Regions from separate parts of the Homo sapiens genome. Here region 2 is linked to region 1. Evidence: promoter capture Hi-C in 16 types of primary human blood cells and fetal thymus (Javierre and others, 2016). All regions are on one chromosome and are shown on one strand. Each heading gives the region's core, a stretch centred on a gene start or on the middle of the fragment in contact. The rest is flanking DNA. Distances are from core to core; before and after follow the strand shown.

What was found. The method cuts DNA at HindIII sites, captures the fragments that hold promoters and counts their contacts. A CHiCAGO score of 5 or more calls a contact.
Region 2: a contact is called between the fragment with the promoter of INTS4 here and the fragment with the promoter of TNKS1BP1 in region 1, in 1 of 17 cell types (naive CD8 T cells). The highest score is 6.3, in naive CD8 T cells.

Annotation. Positions count from the first base shown.
Region 1 is chr11:57,323,699-57,326,752 of GRCh38, reverse strand. It overlaps TNKS1BP1 (tankyrase 1 binding protein 1), which reads left to right and starts at 1,801. Exons shown (of 12, transcript NM_033396.3): 1 at 1,801-1,913. It overlaps SSRP1 (structure specific recognition protein 1), which reads left to right. Exons shown (of 17, transcript NM_003146.3): 16 at 1-50; 17 at 275-765. The coding sequence ends at 346. RefSeq lists enhancers at 635-1,508, 1,538-1,587 and a silencer at 1,718-1,997. The HindIII fragment of the contact is 11,807 bases long and covers 1,234-3,054 here.
Region 2 is chr11:77,993,260-77,996,367 of GRCh38, reverse strand. It overlaps INTS4 (integrator complex subunit 4), which reads left to right and starts at 1,700. Exons shown (of 23, transcript NM_033547.4): 1 at 1,700-1,778. The coding sequence starts at 1,725. RefSeq lists a silencer at 1,316-1,385 and an enhancer at 1,586-1,785. The HindIII fragment of the contact is 5,814 bases long and covers 1-3,108 here.

The DNA of each region.
Region 1 (3,054 bases), core at 552-3,051:
AGAGCTCTTCGGGAGAGAACAAGAGCAAAAAGAAGAGGAGGAGGAGCGAGGTGCGGCAGGAATGTGGGGCCTGTGGGCTGGGCAGGGTGAGGGGCATGTGTGTCTGTGTGGGGTTGGTCTGTAAGAGTAATGAGTTGGAGTGGATGGTGGAATTCTGAGGTTCTGAAGGGGGGTGCTGTAGTTGGGGGCGGTAGGGAATTGCGGGCCCTTCACTGAAGAGTGGGTGGGGCACCCAGGACTCCAGCTTTTCCCTTAAGACACCTTTGGTTTTCAGGACTCTGAAGAAGAAGAACTAGCCAGTACTCCCCCCAGCTCAGAGGACTCAGCGTCAGGATCCGATGAGTAGAAACGGAGGAAGGTTCTCTTTGCGCTTGCCTTCTCACACCCCCCGACTCCCCACCCATATTTTGGTACCAGTTTCTCCTCATGAAATGCAGTCCCTGGATTCTGTGCCATCTGAACATGCTCTCCTGTTGGTGTGTATGTCACTAGGGCAGTGGGGAGACGTCTTAACTCTGCTGCTTCCCAAGGATGGCTGTTTATAATTTGGGGAGAGATAGGGTGGGAGGCAGGGCAATGCAGGATCCAAATCCTCATCTTACTTTCCCGACCTTAAGGATGTAGCTGCTGCTTGTCCTGTTCAAGTTGCTGGAGCAGGGGTCATGTGAGGCCAGGCCTGTAGCTCCTACCTGGGGCCTATTTCTACTTTCATTTTGTATTTCTGGTCTGTGAAAATGATTTAATAAAGGGAACTGACTTTGGAAACCATGTCCTCATGCTTTCTTTGTAGCCTTGGTGTGTTGCTCCCACTTTTATTGGTGGTGTTTACTGCTCTGGTCAGACTGGGCAGGGCCTTCCTGGCCAGCCGGGAAGCAAGTCTCGAGGTACATCCTGTTCTGTTCCCGGCTGGACGAGCATTGGTTTTCACCCGCCTCTGCCCGGATGGGCCACCTGAGAGTCTAGAAATGAGAGCTGATCTGATTAGGAAGTTTCTCCCAGTTACACTCCATTAGCCAACCAAGCTAGGGGGAGGCAGCTCTTGGCTGCATCCTTACCTATGAGTCAAGGGTCTTCCAAGGCTTTCGATAATGAAATCAGGATTGACTGTCCTTCCCGCAGCCGGGGGAGTGGAAACCTGAGCCTGGAGAGTCGGGGAGGATGAGCGTGTGCGTAGAGTGGTGGTGGTTGCAGCCTGGTGGTGGTGCAACAAAGTACGGAGTTATATGTGAAGCTTTTGTTCTTACGGGAAGAAGGGGGTATACAAACTTCAGTGTAGGGAGGAACCCATGTCTGAGAAGGGGCCTAAAAGGAGATAAAGGTCACTAATGAGGAATGCAGAGCTGCCAGACTTCTTCACGGTGGCTCTAAATCTGAATTGACACAGGAGGGTGGCCACGTTGCGCGCGTTCTCAGCACTCAGGTGGTTGTATCAGGAAGCCGCTTCAGTCAGCCGGCGGCTACCTTCTTGCCGGCGTAGCTCGATGATACTGTGCTCTGTGCAGGCGGCGGAGCCCGGGAGGGGCCGCCAAGGCAGTTTCTCTAGGCAGTCGTCTCGGTGGCCATTTTACCCGAGCGCTCCCGGCTGAATTGCGTCAGTTTCGCCCCGGTCTGAGACTGGGGCGGGCCCCTCATCTGCAAGCCTCATGAATAATTGAGTGCTGGGCCGCGCCTGTTTGCCGACGGTGGGACGAATTCTGCACGGGCTTCCCACTCCCGGGTTCCAACCGGCTCATGCATATTCATGAAGCGCCCTGGGGGCGTGGACCTGGGCGGAGTTGGGGCGGGGCCCCGCCGGGGCTCGCAGTGGCTTCGTCCCGCGGTGACGGCGGCGGCGGCGGCGGTAGCAGCGGCGGCGGCGGCGGGGACTGGCATCGGGGCCCCGAGCCGAGCGGAGCCGGACCCCGGGCGAGCGCGTGAGTGCGCGGGGGCGGTCGGGCGAAGGAGGGGGCGGGGTCCGGGATGGGGCGGGGGAGGGGCATGGAAGGAGTGGGTGCTTTCCAGCCGACACCTCGGGTTGAGGTGGTGGTGGTCGGGGGGTCACCAGGAAAGTTTGCAGGGGCCGAGGGCGCTGGGGACGCTGGAGGCCCGGGGGAAGGTGGCGCGTGTGCGCGGAGGCGGAGGGCGCATGGCTTGGAGCTCGTGCTGGCAGAGCCAGAAGAAAGGGGGGAGGGGGCGAGGGCTTGGGGCGGGGCCGGGGGCGGGCAGAGCCGCTGGAGGGACCCCTGCCTCCCCTTCCTCCGGGCCGCGCTAGCCCCCTCCCCCGGCTCCTTCGGCACGCCCCCAGCCACCCCAGTCCGCCCCCACCTGATCGACGTCTGCAGCCCACCGTCTGTTCGCCGGCTGCTTCACAGCCCGCTCACAGGTCCTCCGCTTCTGCCGCCACCGCAGCCCCCTCCTCCTCCTCCTCTTCGGCTGCCGCCGTCCCTTCTGTGTCCAGAGCTCCCCACTGGGCCCCTCCAGACAGCCCATTGCCCGGGGCTGTTCCATCTTCCCGTTGGCCCTCCCTCTTTCCAGCAGTTTACGTGCTGTCCCTGCCGACCTCTCTAGCCTCGGATCCGGCTGGAGATCCTGGGGTCCATAGGGGCGACCCCGCCTGCGCCGAGTCCCCTCCGGGGCTGGAGCTGCCCAGCCCTTCTGGAGGCCTTATCTGCCAGGGGTCAGCTCGTTTCTACCCTGCTACCCTCTACCCCCTGGTCTCTTGAGGGTGGGGAGTGCTCAGAACCGCTGCGAATCGCAGCTTCTGGCCACAGCCTTGGTGGCCTTGGTCACCTGGGGCCCCTGGCTGGGGTCTCTGAGTTGCTGTGGCCACCTCCGCACCTGGGGACTCTGAGCCCGCCTTCATTGCTGCAGCCCCTCATACCGCAGAGGGGCCCATCAGAACCCCAGGTGAAAGGATTTTTTTGGTTCTGAGCCAATTAATTTCCATCTCCAACCACCCACACTATGTTCCTAGTAATAATGTTCAAGGACAAGGAAACAATCTTGTGTTTTAATTTTATTTTTTCTATCATGTGCCCCTCCCCCCACCACACTTGGCCTGGCTCTGCACAGTTA
Region 2 (3,108 bases), core at 451-2,950, about 21 Mb before region 1:
TTTTTTTTGGAGACAGGGTCTCACTCCGTTGCCCAGGCTGGAGTGCAGTGGCTGGATCTCGGCTCACTGCAACCTCCACATCCCAGGCCCAAGCGATTTTCCCGCCTCAGCCTCCAGAGTAGCTGGGACTTCAGGCGTGGGCCACCATCATGCCCAGCTAAATTTTGTATTTTTAAAGTAGATTTCGCCATGTTGCCCAGGCTGGTCTCAAAACTTCTGAACTAGGTGATCTGCCCGCCTCGGCCTCTCAAAGTGCTGGGATTATAGGCGTGAGCCACCACTCCCAGTTTCCTCTAATTTTAGGAAAGCCTTCCCTGAGGCACTCTGAAGAAATTAGGTCTGTTTGAACCACATTCATTCCCGTTACCCAGCACATTTCAGTTGCACTGTCACCATCAGTTTGGGTGTCTGTCTTCTCAGATTGTAGGACCTTGAGGATAAATACTATCTTTTGTTTATTTTTGGGTCCTCTGTATCCACCTCAGCCTCCTGCTTTTTTTTTTTTAAACTATCCCACATTAATTCTTTTTTTTTTTTTTTGATAACGGAGTCTCGCTCAGTCGCCCAGGCTGGAGTGCAGTGGCGCGATCTCGGCTCACTGCAACCTCCGCTTCCCATGTTCAAGTGATTCTTCTGCCTCAACCTCCCAAGAAACTGGGATTACAGGCGTGTGCCACCATGCCCCGACTAATTTTTGTATTTTTAGTAGAGACGGGGTTTCCCCATGTTGGCCAGGCTGGTCTCGAACTCCTGACCTCAAGTGATCCATCCGCCTCGGCCTGCCAAAGTATTGGGATTACAGGCATGAGCCACCGCGCCTGGCCCACATTCTTTTGAAAGACCAAAATAATGAACAGCTAGTTTCATGTAGGTTGTAAAACTTGACCTTGGATTTACTGACACTAACATGTGCACTACACCTTACAGTCCGTAAAATGTTCCTGCATTATTTCACTCCATTGTCACATCTTTGTCAGGTTAGTTATTATAAATGCATTTGTAGTTGAGCCATTTGCTCAAGAACCAGAGCTGTAGTCTGTAGCTTTGTTGCTTTATCCTTGGTCTCAGAAGTCTTCTACTGTACTATAGCTATCAGAGCAGGGATTGATGCCTTAAAGGATGGCAGCTTTTGCAAAACTGGAATAAGGAAGTATGGAAAGGCACCCCAAAACAAGAGAGGTGGCGCACAGCTTGAACAAAGGCAGTGCTCAGGAAACCTACAAACAGCATCGTGTACAGCAAAGGATGATGGGAAAGTCAGCCGAGCCTCTGAGTTTTTTCACGAGTCGTAAACCCCTTACAGAGCTCCGGGTTTTGCCTCTAGCTCTGGAGCACCCCGCCTCTGCCCTTTAACCTGTACTTCCTCCCTCCCTCCCTTCGCGCCGCGCCGCGCTAGTCTCTTAGCCACTCCGAGGCCACCAACCAGCCTCCCAAAGCTCCCATTGGGTTGCCCACCCTTTCAGTCTCAGCTCCTCCCGCCAGAGGCCCCGCCTCCCACAAGCGAAGCTCTTATTTCCGTTCTTCCGGCGTAGGCCGCCAAATCAGTCCGTACAGTGGCGAGGCAGTCGAGCAACAGGAAGCGGTCGCTCTTTCCCCAAATCCCACTGCCTTGTGGGATCTCGGCAAGTCATCCACCCACCCCCCGCGCCTACGCAAGTTTTCCGGATCCGTCCACCCCCGCCTCCCTCCTAGTGTACGGAAGCTGAGAGGGCCCGCGGGTAGGCATGGCGGCGCACCTTAAGAAGCGGGTTTATGAGGAATTCACGAAAGTGGTTCAGGTAAGCTCTGGCGGGAAAGATCCAGAACCGATCCGGACCAGGGTAGATTATCCAAATCCCAGGCACTTTGCCGGAACAGAAGAGGCTCCATACGCCCGTGTTAAGTGCTGACTTGTTGATAATCTCTGATATTGCAAGTTAGTGGGCGTGTTAGTTTGCAGCCGCTGTTGTCATTAATATGTGAAGTCTGACAGGATTTTAAAAAAATTATTAGGAGAAACAGTGTTTTTTAATTTACGAAACTGTCTTATCCGTTATTTCATTTTATTCTCTCACACAACTTTGCTCCATCGCGTTACATTAGCATCCTCGTTTTCCAGATGTGGACATTGAGCCTTCCGGAGGGGTACGAGGATACAGCCAGTTAGCAGCAGAGCCCCTTCTAGCCTCCCCGCACCCCCGTTCCAAAAAAAAACCTCCCAGGGACCAGTTGGAATATACACAAGGTTCTAAGGGGCTGAAAGAAGGGTCTATAGAATTCCTTCAGGCGCAGTCTAAGCAGGCGGGGGTCACAGACTTCATAGGGGAAGAGCTCTCTATTGGTAGAACAGCTCACCTAGGAAGGAGGGCAGTACCTTCCTCACCATGAAGTTGTGACAGGTGGGCAGAGTCCCTGTCGGGAGTCAGTGATGCTCCATGTGTCTCCACGTAGATGTTGCTAGGGTTGATCCTAAATCATCCTGATGTCCTATTTCTCAGATATTAATGTGTATACAAATTACCTGGGGACGTTGTTCAAATGTCGATTCTATTTGATAAGTCAAGCAGAGGAGGTGAGGCAAGATTCTGCATTCCTGACATGCCCCCAAATTTACACCAGTGCATTGGTTGCATTCTTAGATCCTTAGACTTGTAGAGTGGCAAGGCTTAGAGCATCCAGCAGGATACTGATCCTTAAACATTACATGGATTCATTCATCCAGCATTAAAATATGTTAATACAAATACAAAATATGTCAATACATAATATAAAATTTACAATTTTAACAATTTTAAGTATAAAGTTCAGTGGCATTAAGAACATTAGCACTGTTGCACAATGTGATTTCCTCTCTTCCCAACATTCTGTTGTTCCCATTTCCCAAGACTGCTCAGCCCTCTTCCACCCATCCTCACATGACCAGATATGCCATGTGTTCTTGTGTTTGCATATCTCAAAACTCTTGCACTGGTTGTCTCTTCTCACAGAATACATGCCATTCTTCCCTTTCTTTTTGTTCTCCACCCAGTGGACTTAACATTTGTGCTTCAAGACCCAAATGAAACCTCAGCGAGAGCTTAGTCTCTTCTTCACCTGTTTCTGTAGCATTCTGTGGTACTAATCTATTTG